Regions from separate parts of the Homo sapiens genome. Here regions 2, 3, 4 and 5 are each linked to region 1. Evidence: promoter capture Hi-C in 16 types of primary human blood cells and fetal thymus (Javierre and others, 2016). All regions are on one chromosome and are shown on one strand. The core of a region is centred on a gene start or on the middle of the fragment in contact, and the rest is flanking DNA. Distances in the headings are between cores, read along the strand shown.

What was found. Contacts are between HindIII fragments. The CHiCAGO score rates a contact against its expected background, and 5 or more counts as called.
Region 2: a contact is called between a fragment that was not itself captured here and the fragment with the promoter of SPATA13-AS1 in region 1, in 1 of 17 cell types (naive CD8 T cells). The highest score is 5.8, in naive CD8 T cells.
Region 3: a contact is called between a fragment that was not itself captured here and the fragment with the promoter of SPATA13-AS1 in region 1, in 5 of 17 cell types (endothelial precursors, fetal thymus, megakaryocytes and 2 more). The highest score is 7.9, in endothelial precursors.
Region 4: a fragment that was not itself captured here is called in contact with the fragment with the promoter of SPATA13-AS1 in region 1 in 5 of 17 cell types (endothelial precursors, M2 macrophages, M0 macrophages and 2 more); the score reaches 7.2 in endothelial precursors.
Region 5: a fragment that was not itself captured here is called in contact with the fragment with the promoter of SPATA13-AS1 in region 1 in 1 of 17 cell types (M2 macrophages); the score reaches 6.8 in M2 macrophages.

Annotation. Positions count from the first base shown.
Region 1 is chr13:24,253,112-24,255,734 of GRCh38, reverse strand. SPATA13-AS1 (SPATA13 antisense RNA 1) reads left to right here and starts at 1,296. Exons shown (of 3, transcript NR_046531.1): 1 at 1,296-1,399; 2 at 2,536-2,623. All of the region lies in intron 4 of SPATA13 (spermatogenesis associated 13), which reads right to left. The HindIII fragment of the contact is 5,552 bases long and covers 1-2,623 here.
Region 2 is chr13:24,506,978-24,509,600 of GRCh38, reverse strand. All of the region lies in intron 1 of PARP4 (poly(ADP-ribose) polymerase family member 4), which reads left to right. All of the region lies in intron 1 of LOC105370117 (a long non-coding RNA gene), which reads right to left. Among named protein-coding and RNA genes, the nearest start is that of PARP4, 4.5 kb to the left of the region's middle. The HindIII fragment of the contact is 3,829 bases long and covers 1-2,623 here.
Region 3 is chr13:24,010,440-24,013,062 of GRCh38, reverse strand. It overlaps a transcript of SPATA13 not described here. Among named protein-coding and RNA genes, the nearest start is that of C1QTNF9B, 110 kb to the right of the region's middle. The HindIII fragment of the contact is 3,516 bases long and covers 1-2,623 here.
Region 4 is chr13:24,027,558-24,030,180 of GRCh38, reverse strand. It overlaps a transcript of SPATA13 not described here. Among named protein-coding and RNA genes, the nearest start is that of C1QTNF9B, 130 kb to the right of the region's middle. The HindIII fragment of the contact is 311 bases long and covers 1,137-1,447 here.
Region 5 is chr13:24,062,137-24,064,759 of GRCh38, reverse strand. It overlaps a transcript of SPATA13 not described here. Among named protein-coding and RNA genes, the nearest start is that of SPATA13, 97 kb to the left of the region's middle. The HindIII fragment of the contact is 2,970 bases long and covers 1-2,623 here.

The DNA.
Region 1 (2,623 bases), core at 47-2,546:
GAAATGCTAGAGATGGTCTATCATGTGAGTCTCACCACCCCTTGGGCTGCATCTCCCATGTGACAGCAGCTTTTATAATTAATGTACTGCTAATCTCTCTAGGCCAGAGATGCTGCTGAGAGATGGTTCCACTGCAATGCAAACCTGGTCCTCCATGGGGGTGGGACATCTGTCATGGGAAAAAGGTGGGCATAGTTACTATACCACACAGCAGGGCCAGCTTGGTCATCTGAATGGTTTGACCTGTGAAATCTCTGGTTGTGCTGTTAACTGATCTCGGGGTCCCCAGGAACAAAACAGATGAGTGATTCCACAAAGGTACCACAACATTGTGTAGGAGGAACTCTCCAGGGCTGGCAAGCAGAGCCCGACCTGAGCCACCATGACAGAGAAGACAAGGGAGGGCCCTCACTCAACTCCCAGACTCAGGCCTCTTGATGGAGCAGAGCCAGGGAGCCTCAGGGTAGGCATCCTACTACAAGTCTTCTTCCTAGCTTCTCAAAGAGAACTCCTACCATCAGCCTGGTGACTGTGTCCTCAGGACAGGGAAACTCCCGGCGGCAAATGTAAGCAATACTCTTCCCAAGCCTTTCTGAGTAGGAGAGATGGCTTTGGCAAGGCAAGGATTTAGCTCGTGCGCACTCCTGGTTAGGAGCTAATGGCCTGGCTGAATGGCCTGGAGGAATGTGGAAAGAACAAGATGGGCTGAGGATGGGTTTGGGGAAGGAGTATAACTGGCTACCTCAGAATACCCGCAGAGCATGAGATGATGTCCATCCTACATGAATCCTTATTGCAAGAGAGGCTAATCAATCATCATGTGGACATGCTGTCCCAATGTGCAGCTAGATGCCAGTCTTCCTTCCTAGTCATCTTGATACTTGCTCAGTGGGTTCATAAAAAGGAAAAAAAAAAAGAAGCAAGCAAGAAAAAGGCCATGGTGGCAAAAATGGATGCCAAGCCTGGGCTAAACCACAGGAAGTCTGGGCCTTCCCCTCAACAAAGCTGATGATACGGTTCCCCGCAGGAACCAGACAGCCCCTTGCGGAAAGCTGATTGCAGTGGGGCCTTTTCATAATAGAGGGGGTGGTGATTTGTCCCTACTGGAAGGGCCACTTATGCTGGGCTTGGATTTGTTTTCCTGCACTCTGTGGATCCTCTAGAAGGCCCCTATCCTGTCGCAGCATCTCACACGCCATCCAGGCCCAGAACGTCACAGAGAAGGAAGCACATGACCCCATCACACCCAATAACAACCAAATAAAAATGAAGTTACAGAGGCAGCTGGGAGACACACCCAGAAGTTGCCATACTGCCCTGGATGGGACGCAAGCTCTGAAGCAGTGACTAATTTGGAGAGGCTGGCCCACAGCAGAAGATGCAGGGCCGGAAACCAAGGGTAAACATAGAAGCGGCTTCTTAGGATTACTTAATAATATACTTGCAAAATGTTTTCTTCCCACCTAGGAACTCTGCTCTGTTGAAACTGAATTTAGTGCCCAAGGGAGAAGTACTTCCTCCAGAGTTCACAGTCCTGGCCACAGTGAATCAGAACCAAGGCTGGCCATTTTTGCCTCTTCGTACCACTGGGAAAATGAGCACCCACGGAAAATGGGGATGGCTTTTGTGGTCACTGCTACCATATTTCTCAAATGGACTAATGCAATCGCCTTCAAATCAATCTCCATTCCTCTTCCTTTCCCCCCACAAACTGCCCTCCCTCTCTAAGCATAAACCGGAACATAATATGCTCCTGCTGCCAATGGCTTCACACCACACTTAGAACAAGCTCAGCCTCCTCATGACCTGCAGAGCCCTTTCCAGCCTCAGCCCACCTCCCAGCCTGCAACATCCTCGTCTGCCTCTTGCTCCCTGAGCTCCTGTCACTGTGGCCTCCTTGCTGAACCTCAGACACATCATGTTTCCTGCCTGTCTTTGGGCTTCTGGTGCTCCTTCGGCTAGGACTTCTCCTCCCTCGGATCTCTGCCTCACTGCCTCCTACTCACCTGTCCCCAGCGTCACCTCCTTGGAGAGGAGGCTATCTCCCCCACCTGCTCCTACTCCTCACATTACCCAAAGTCATCTTCTGCAGGGCCGTCACTGGTGCCTTGGTGCATCCTACATATTGACTTATGGAATCTGTTCAAATGCTGAAATGTAAACTTTGCATGACGTTTTATTCTCCACAGCATCCCAAATTCTCTATTTCCTTCCTTTCCCTGCCTTGCCATTCTGGTAGGGATGTGTTGCTTAAATCTGCCTCTAGTTAATCAACGCTGAAGAGGCACTGCATGGAACTGGAGGACTAGTTATCCTAAGAGGTCCTAGACTTGGAGGTGTCTGCTGCCACTGATGAGGATCTGGGTGTCTCCTTCTAGGGAAGAGAGAGAGGGTTCATGGAACAGGTGCATCCTGTTCATTAGAGTGTCATTAGAATAACACTCTTTGGAAATGAATGCTCTCTATCCTGTTTTATTTTTCTTTATAGTACTGTCTGCTCTGTTAAATACTTACTTGGCCTGTCTTCACATATAGAAGGCAAGGGTCCCTGGAGACAGACACCCCACCCTTCTTCCTGTTCCAGTACCACCAGGTGGTGGACATATCACCTAAGCTCGGACAG
Region 2 (2,623 bases), core at 61-2,560, 250 kb before region 1:
TACTATTTAAAAAATGTATTGGGGTACAATTTACATACATTAAATTCATTCATTTTAATTGTACAATTTAGTAATTTTTCTCTCTTTTTTTTTTTTTGAGATAGGGTCTCTTGTCACCCAGGCTGGAGTGCAGTGGCATGATCACAGCTCACTGCAGCCTTGACCTCCCAGGCTCAAGTGATCCTCCCACCTAAGTCTCCTGAGTAGCTGGGACCATAGGCATGTACCACCTTGCCCAGCTAAGTTTTGTATTTTTTGTAGAGATGAAGTTTCGCCATGTTGGCCAGGCTGCTCTCAAACTCCTGGGCTCAAGCGATTTGCTCCACTTGGTCTCCCAAAGTGCTAGGGTTACAGGCATGAGCCACATTGCCTGGCCTAATTCAATAATTTTTAATAATTTACCAAGTTGTGCACCATCACTGCAGTCTAGTTTTGAGCATTTCCATCATTTTAGGTGCTTTTTATTTTTTCTTCTTAGTGATTAACTTTTAACACAAAAAAATTGTTCAAACTTTGATTCAGTAGTTCTAGTTGAGTATTATTTTCTAAGATGATTGTTGGAGATGGAAACAAGGATTTGCACATAAGGATGTTCATCATAGCTTTTTATGATACCAAAAATCAGAAATGATTTAATTTTCCAACAATAATTCATTTATGGTCCATATCTGATAGTCTCTATTAAAAATGTTTTCCAATAATATTTAATGACAAAATGCTAAAGATGCTGACTGATAACAGCGGGATAGGTAGTGTGATGTCAATTTTGATAAAAAATACAGTCTGTGGCTGGGTGCGGTGACTCATGCCTGTAATCCCAGCACTTAGGGAGGCCAAGGTGTGCAGATCACTTAAGGTTGGGAGTTCGAGACCAGCCTGGCCAACATGGTGAAACCCCGTCTCTACTAAAAATACAAAAAGTAGCCAGGCATGGTGGCAGGCACCTATAATCCCAGCTACTCGGGAGGCTGATGCAGGAGAATCGTTTGAACCCGGGAGGCGGAGGGTGCCGTGAGCCGAGGTCTCACCACTGCACTTCCGCCTAAGTGACAAAAGCGAGACTGTCTCAAAAAACAAAGTGTTATAATAGACCTAGAAAAAAGCCCAGAAGAAAAATGCAAAACAAGATGCTAACATAGCCCTAGGTTTTGAGATTTTTTTGTTTTGTTCTTTTTTTTTCTGTTATACAATTCTGTATTTTTCAAATTTTCAACAGTGACCATGAGTCACTTTTCCAGGAAACACGTTTTAAACAGGTCAGAGGATTTAACACATCCAGGACCCATCTGAAGGTGGACTTGAGCAGCCACTCCATGTCAGCCAACCTTGGTCAGCATAAGTGGGGGTGCAATTATCACATAGAGGCTGTCCTGGAAATTATTAAAGAGTCATTAAAGGCTTTTAGTGTTTTTTTTTGTGTGTTGTTTTTAATTGTCAGAGATTACGACTAGCATAGATTAACCTAAATAGTGTGGTGTAATCTCTTTTATGGTACCCCTCATTTCATCCCTCCTATCTATGCACAGATGCTAATTGAATGTGAGAGGCAGTCAACAAATGAAACTTTTCCATGCTAATGTTATGGAAAGGCAGAATTACATCAAGAGACTTCAGTTTAACCGGACCTCAAAAGAAAGATTAAAAAATATGAATCCCTAATGTGTTCATTCATTGTGTCCTGGATGGGGGATACAGCATGGGGTGAGGAAGGGCTGGGGGTCCCAGAGATAAGAACTATAATATATAACAGCATGTGTCAAGACTTGGAGGACCAAGCTGTGGGTTTCTTCCTCCTTTAGAAAAAGCCAGTGTGGCCAGGAGGGAATGAGATAGCTGTTGGCCTTGAACCATGATAAGCAATTTGTATTTTATTTGAAATGTAATTTAAAAACAACAAGTTTCCTGAAGCTGCAGTGTGGAGAAGAGATTGAACACAGGCGCAACAGGAGTGGGAGCCAGTCAGGATGCGAGGGCATGGGCCAGGGTGGCAGCAGGAGGGACAAGTTCTATACATTGGGGCTATATCAGGGGCTGTGATGGAAGAGATACAGCTGGCAGAAGGAGATGGGGGTGCAGGGAGTCAAGAATAGCACCCAGTGGTTGTCTCCAGCCAAGGGGGAGAGGGAGGCCTAGGCTGGGGACGTCGCACCTCTGTGGTGCCAAGGAGACCCAGAGGTGAGGTGTCAGGGAGGCAGTGGCACTGTGTCCTCAATTGAGAGCCCAGGGAATGGGTACCACCATCCAACACACACAGGGCAAAGGTACTGAAAGGTGACAGCGTGCTGGCAGCCCTTGCAGCCCTCGCTGGCTCTCGGCGCCCACTCTGGCTACGCTTGAGGAGCCCTTCAGCCCGCCGCTGCACTGTGGGAGCCCCTTTCTGAGCTGGCGAGGCCGGAGCCGGCTCCTTCAGCTTGCAGGCGCAGGACGGAACCGGGGCTGTGCGCGGCGCTTGCGGGCCAGCGCAAGTTCCGGTTGGGCGTGGGCTGGGCGGTCCCCGCACTCTGAGCAGCCCGCTGGCCCCGCCGGCCCCGGACAGTGAGGGGCTTAGCGTCCGGGCCAGCAGCAGCGGAGGGTGTGCCGGGTACCCCAGCAGTGCCGGCCCACCAGCGCTGTGCTAGATTTC
Region 3 (2,623 bases), core at 48-2,547, 240 kb after region 1:
GGGTATTAGCAAAGGGGTGACAATGGGCCCTTGGAAAGCTCACACAGTGTGGCTTTGCTTGCTCCCCACTCTGCCGTCACGGTGAGAAGGTGTCGGGCTGGCCTGCTGGATGAGGGAGAGTTGTGGCCTAGGTGTGCCCTGTCCCCAGCCACAGCTGGGGAGTGCCAGCCACAGGAGGGAGCCCAGCCCAAGCCCGTGAAAGCCCCGACCTGCAGACGCATAAACCAAACAGATGCCACTGTCTGCAGCCACGGGGCTCAGGGTGGTGTTCTGGGCATTGCTGTGGCAACACTGACTGTTGCAGTGGGCATGACTGCTCCTATGCCCGTGCCATTCCCAGCAAGGCAGGTGCTGTAATCACAGGCTTGCAGCCTGCACCCCGCCCACCACACACTTGGGGGTTGGCTGCGGAAGACGGGGAGGGAACAGACTCCAGGAGCTTGTCAGGGCAGAAAAAGATCAACCAGGGGAGCCCCTGAGAGGGGAAGACCATGAACTTGATCAACATGGCCAACTCGAAGGGCCAAGTGAGAAGCCTATCAAAATTGCCATATGCTTGTCCTCTCCCACTCCTTGGAGACAGTAGGCACAGCCTTTGTCTCTGTCCTGTTGTACTAGAGGACACCCTAATGGTGTACCTGGGTGGTGTGTACTTCTCAAGATACTGACCAACCACGAGCATCTGCTGGTGATGTCCCCCTGCCTGGGGGCAACCTTGACCAAGATAGAAGAGAGTTTCATCTGTGAGCTGCCCTATGCCTCAGAGGCTAAAAGTATTTTGGTCCTTAAGTAGAAAGTAGTTATCTCTTCTGGAGGAGTCCCTAGACCCTTCTACCAGTGATGGAGGGTCTGGCTGTGACGCAGGTGAAAAGATTCCCCAGGAAAGAGACTGATACCTCTGCAGGCTTTCATCATAGGCTGGTTACACACCTGGCTTCTTGACAGTGTGTTTGCCAGTGACACAGGTCCCTCACATCCTTGCTGGGGCCCATGGTCAGACACAATGGCTGCAAGAAACCACTGCCTTCATCTTCTCAGTAAGTCATCAGCAAGTTTTGTTTAGGGTGGTGGGCAAGCCCCGGTCCCTGTGCCTGTGAGTTTTACAATCCGTAGGGGGAGGCGGAGGTGCACATTGAAGCCTCCGCTGCAAGTTTAAAGAAGAAGGCTGAGCATTCTGGGTCTGTGGGATCATCCCTCATGGTCCCCCAAGTTTGCCTGTGCAGGTGGGCTCTGCCCCTAAGTTCCAGGCCATCTACCCAGGCTAGCACCAGCAGGCTGGACAGATGGCTGCTTGGCCAGAGCTGAAGACTATGTTCTCTGCATGCCCCCTGCCAGGAAGGATGTTGGAGACTCCCAGGCTCCTGCTTAACTAGTAGAGTTAGAGCCTGGTGTTTTCAGCCACACCAAGAGAAGAAAGCAAGACAGGGCCAGTGCCTTGTTGGTGGATCTGAGGGTCCTGGTGCATGGGACATGCTAGTCTGTATCCATATCAGGCCCATCAGGAGCATGGCCAGCCCACAGCTGGAGGGCATCAGCCAGCCAGGACAGGGAGCGTGGCAACAGAATTCCAGGTTCTGTCCTCACCAGCAGGGACACTCTCAACCACCTGCTGCTGGGTCGCCACATTCTCCAGGGGAGGGCAGCAAGCCAGACCTGCCCAGAACGGTCTCAGGGATCCCTGAGTCCTCAGCACTTGGGCCCAGACCAGCTGCGGAACGTGAGACAGCATGAGATGGCCAAGCCGGCCGGCACTGCCTCAGAAATGAAAGGAAGGGAAATTCCTAGAACCAGGTGCTCAGGGTGGATGCCCACTCCCCTGGGAGGCAGGTGGGAGCTCCGAGTGCTGATCCAGGCTGGGAGGTGGCACCCAGGCAAGATGGGTCTCGCTGGGCTGAAGCAGCCTTGTTTTCCTGCAGTGTGGCTCTACAGGGAGGGGCCCACGGCCAGGTGGTCAGGACCTGGGGAGAAACCAAAGCCAAGGTTGCAGAGGAGTCAGCAAACTGCAGAGTGCAGGCATATCCCAGCAGTATGGGTGCAGAGGGAAAGACAGAAGAAAGCAGTAAGGCAGAGAGGGAACATTCCTCTAGGACAATCCGAGGGGTCTCCATCCCCTGGGACCTCAGTCACCAGTGGGGCAAAGCATTTAGCAACCATTTGACATGCTGGAATGGCAAACCATTCCTAGAACCAGGTGCTCAGGGTGGATTCTAGGAATGGTTTGCCAACCAGCACGTCCCATGCACCAGGGCCCTCAGATCCACCAACAAGGCACTGGCCCTGCCTTGCTTGCCAAGACACCATCCAGGCCTTGGGTGAATTGCCCCATGGAGGAGCAGGAGGGAGGGAGGAGTGGGGAGGAAGATTCATGGGAGGAAGAAAGGATGGAGGAAGGAAGTAGACTGCTGGGAGGAGAAGCAGATCCAACTCAGGCCACAGGTGGAGGAGCTTCCAGGCACGAGGGATCAAGGGACTGTGAAAGGAAAATAAATCTTGGGACCCCGAAATCACTAAGCCCAAGGGAAAAGTCAAGCTGGGGTTAGGCAAACCTGCCTCCCATTCTATTCCTAAATAACGTAGCTACAAAGATGAAAAAAAAAAAAAAAAGCTACATACCTCCCTCACA
Region 4 (2,623 bases), core at 43-2,542, 230 kb after region 1:
TGTGTCAGTGTTGGTTCATCAGCTCTAACAAATGCACCACGCTGTGGGGGATGTGGATGATAGGGGAGGGTATATGTATGTATGTATGTATGTGTGTGTGTGTGTGTGTGTGTGCGTGTGTGTGTGTGTGTGTTAGGAGAAGGTAGGGCATATATGAGAACTCTACTTTCCACTCAATTTTGCTATGAATTCCCATGGAATACTATGCAGCCGTAAAAAAGAATTAGATCATGTCCTTTGCATGAACATGGATGGAGCTGGAGGCCATTATCCTTAGCAAACTAACTTAGGAAGAGATAACCAAATACCGCATGTTCTCACTTATAAGTGAGAGCTAAATGATGAGAACATATAGACACCTAGAGGGGAACAACACACACTGGGGCCTATCGGAGGGTGGAGGGTGGGAGGAGGGAGAGGACTCAAAAAATTAACTAATGGGTACCAGGCTTTAATACCTGGGTGATGAAATAATCTGTACAACAAACCCCCATGACACAAGTGTGTGTATTTAACAAAGCTGCACTTGTACCCCTGAAATTAAAATATCAAAATCTAAATTTAAAAAATTTGCTGTGATTCCAAAAATGCTCTACAGAACAGTCTATATGTTAATATATATTTAAAAATACAGGGTCCCCAGTTTATTTGAATTTTATGTAAATAACATACAAAATTTTTTTATTGTTTAATTGAAATTCAAATTTAACTGAACATTCTGTATTTTTTATGGCAACCCTACTCCTGAGAATCTGTGGCTATCAGCCAGCCCTAACATGGATTTGGGTCTTGATTTCACACTATTTGTCTAAAAAAATGTAAGCTAAAATGTTTATATTAAATAGATCCAAATTTGTACTGTCCTGACGCATCTGGTAAAAGCAAACAAAAATTATTTCTGTAAAAGATGCATCTTTGCCCCAGACTTTAAAGTATTCCCACGAAAAGATTTTCAGAGGCCGGCTGTGTTGGCACATGCCTGTAAGTTCCAGCTACTTGGGAGGCTAGGTGACAGGATCACTTGAGCCCAGGAGTTTAAGTTCAGCTTGGACAACACAGTGAGACCCCGTTACTAACAAAAACTATTAAAAATAAATTCGATAATTAAAAATAAAGGTTTTGAATAAATATAAGCTTATAACAACAAAAAAACCACATACGAGGAAACAAAAGAGAGCAGAAAGAAAAAAATACTGGCCCAGGCTCACCAGGACTTTAGGAAGTAAAATTATTAGATGTAGATTATAAAACATTTTCATGTTTAAAAAAACAGGGGAAATTGAAGCCATGAGCAAGGATATTTTTAGAAATGACCAGAAACATAAAAAACACAAATCTTTAAAATAGAGAAATATAATTATTGAAATGAAAAACTCAAAGCAACAGTTAAATAGCAGATTACACACAGTTGAGTAAAGAAAGTGACAGAAAGATGTGAGTAAAAGCTTGAAGCGTAAGAACGGACAAACATTCAATTGGAATTCTATACAAAGATAGTAAGGTGAATAAAAGAGAGGCAATTAGAATTTTCCAAAACTGATAGTAGTTATCAATGTTCAGAATTAGGAAGCATAAAGAATATAATGCCAGATCTCTCCTAGACACATCACTAAAAAACTGAAGAATGCCAAAGTCAAAAAAAGATTTCAAAGCAACCAAAGAGAAAAGATAGGACCTTGTATTTAATTAGACACCAGCTGACATCACAACTGCAACCAAGGGAGTCAGGAGAATATTATCTGTAAAGTACTAGGAGAAACTAACAACCAACCCAGAATTATGTACCCAGCAAAACTGTTTCAAGAATGATGGCAAAATATAGACACCTGCACATGAACTGATACATTCAGATAAGTTGGGAGCAGTATACCAACAAGATATCCTCTCTAAAAGACTTTTGGAAGAGTGTACTATGGAAGAAAATAAATTAGCTCAAATGCAAAAAGGAATGATGAGCAAAGAAAATGGTAAGTATGTGTGTGTATCTGAACAAGCCTAAGTAGAAGATAATAATAATAGGGTAACTTGTGGATTTAAAAAAGATTAAGTGTATTAGCCCATAAATTTTAACAGTCCTGACTCCATGTTAGAGAAGAGTTTGCTTATGGCTATATGTTTGGAAATTAAAAATTATAAAAACATCTAAATTTATGAATCAAAGAAAAATATAATAGAAATTAAAAACTACTAAAACAGAATTATAACAAAAACAATTTCATCACAGTTTTTCTGGTGTTACATGGCTAATGATGTTTAAGCAGATGCTGGAGCAGAGCTGAGGAAGAGTAAAGAGCATAAAGGGGTGGAAGAGGAACAAGCAGGCAGGAAGGGCACTCCTGAAGGGTTTAATCTACACCACGTGTTCTTCTAAGATCCGTGCATATACTAATTTCCTCGGTTTTCACAACTATGCTATGATACTGGTGTTACCCAATTTCGAGTATATGAAACTAAGGCACAGAGAAGTTAAGTTACCTGACCAAGGTCACACAGCCAGAAAAGAGGCTTATTTGCTTATACTAGAAAAGAAGAACTGAACATTAATGAACTAAGAACTAATACATAAAGATAAAAAACAGCAACTCAAAAAACCCAAGAATGTAGAAGAAAGGAAATAATAAAG
Region 5 (2,623 bases), core at 51-2,550, 190 kb after region 1:
GATTAAGAAGGCACCCAGCAGCATTTTAGTTTGGCTGCTGTAACAAAGTACCATAGACTGGGTAGCTTAGAGCCAACAGAAATTTGTCTTTCACAATTCTGCAAGCTGGCAAATCCAAGGTCAAAGTACCAGAAGATTCAGTGTCTGGTGAGGGCCTACTTCCTGGTTTGTAGATGTCTGTCTTCTTGCTATGTTCTCACATGGCAATAAGGGCGTGGGAGTTCTCTGGGGGCTCTTTTATAAAAACACAAATCCCATTCATGAGGGCCCTACCCTCATGACCCAATGACCTCCCAAGCGCCTCACCTCCTAACAGCCTCTTACTAGGGGTTAGGATTTCAACATATAAACTTCAGGGAGACAAAAACATTTAGTCCATTGCAGCCAGGTTTCTCCACTGTGAGGTTACTGCTCTCCCATTGATTTAATTGTACTTCATTTAAATGTAATCTGAATGTGGTCTAGTCACTAACTCATAAAATGTGGGCTTGACGAAACGGAGACTGTAGCCATTCTAGTAGCTTTGTTGTCTGTTGTTACACTGACGTACTGTGAGCTTTAGAACGCATTAAGTGATCTGTGACAGGCTGGTCCATTCACAGGGAAAATAATCTGGAGTGGCCTGATGAGGCAGGAGAACAGGTGCAGTGAACACTGACAAGAGAAAGTGCTGGAAGGGTAGGCAGGCATGGTCAAAGAGAGAAATGGCTGACTTGAAGAAGATGGCAGAGATGGAGCAGATCCAGGGCACGTTTGCTCCAGAGGCACCCACTGGAGGCGGTGAGGCCACACAGTGAAGAAGCAGCCCCTCAGAAAGGAGGCAGGCAGGGAACGAAGACCTCAGGTCATTAAGGAAGTCATCTCTGGGGTCTCCTGGAATAATGCTGGGATGGTGAGTGGAGTGCCCTCATCCCTGTGAGTGAGGCAGGAAACGACACAAATTCAGGACAGCGACTAAGAGAAGAAAGCTGGATGACATGTGCCGTAGAGAGCAGGTTTCTGTTTTGTTTTCTTTGATTTTGTTTTATAAAGGGTGAAACATCAGCAACGAGAAGGCTGCCCCCTCCTCCTGACCCTGAGCTGAAGAGGATGTGGGAGAAGGAGCCGCCCCCACTTGAGTGGGCTCAGGGAAGCTGTGTAATTGGATGGCAGCCAGGGTTCAGTTCAGCAAGGACATGGAGGAACATTTAGTGATGATGTGGGGGAGTTTGGTTTCCTGCAGGGAGGGTTCTGGAGAATCTGGCAGGCATGTTTGGGAGGAAAGGCCACCGAGGGATGTGGGCCAGGGGAGAGGATGGCAGTCAGAGTCCAGAGGCGCTTACACAGATCAAGCACTGTGATAACTCAATAAGTACAGGAAGGAATATGTATGTTAAGTAGCTCGATTTAGCCATCCCACAATGTGTACAAATTTCAAAACCTGCTGTACATGATAAACACATACAATTTTTATTTGTCAATTAAAAAATCAGATATCCTTCACTCCTCCTATGAATCCCTAGTGAGTGCTCTCTTTGTGCCCATGGTGGTTTGGCAAGGAGGAGGCAGACGCGAATAAAACCAGGTTCTGGCTGTGGAGCTCACCCTCACGTGGGGCAGACCTGGGGCCAGTGCATGGTGAGCACTGGGAGAAGGAGCCTGGTCCAGGCTGGCTGAGGACAGAGGGCAGGGCTGGGTCTCAGGCAGGTGACCCCGAGGCCAATCCCAGGGAGTACATCTGAGCAGGGAACCTCTGAGGAGGTGCTGGGAAGTGTGTCCCTTGTCCTGAGTCTCCCCCACAAACCCCCAGGGGCACTTTGGCTGTGCGAACTTGGAGGCCCTGGCACTGTCAGATGGCAGGATCATGACCACAGAATGCCATCCACAAGCATGCAGTTTGCAACAGTTTCCAAAGTAATTTCCTGGCAAAACCCACTCCAAATTGAAGTTTGGAAATCCCGATACTTCTCTCAATCTTCAAGAAGGGCTATGAAGGATGGAAGATAACAAATGCATGTGGACACATGCAGACACGGTGCACATACACACACACAAACACACATACACACACACAACCCCTTATTCAGTACAGCTCAGGTGCAGTCATGAGGATACTTCACTGGGTCTTCCTTACACAGTTCCAGACACACCGAAGCCCGACTTCTATAAGAAAACGGAAAATTAGAACTGGATGGAGGCTCCTTCGTCACCGGATCCCCACCCTCTGTTTTGCAAATAAGAAGTGTGGCTCCATGGAGGTGAGGTGACCCAGGTTCACAGAGCCCTGGAGCGGCAGGGCTGGTGGGAAGGCAGAGCCCCTTGGCTCCCAGCACCGTGCACCCTGGCGCCATTGGAGAAGAATTTCATCCTGACTGTGTGCCCTCAGCTCTCTTCGTCCTGATCAGCCCCCAGTCAGTCCCTGGCCTCCTGCCCCCAGCCCTTTAGTCCTTCCTCCAAAGATGACAGCCTCACCCATATCCACAGGATTTTGCATTGTGCTCCGCCAACAGCACTTTGAACCATGAGAAGTTAACATGGGGCTAAGAAGCCCTAGAGCTCTTCCCGGAATAGCATCACTAGTAAACAGCCACACTGTACCAGAGGTCACAGTAGAGCATCTGAGATGCAAACAGACCTGTTAGAA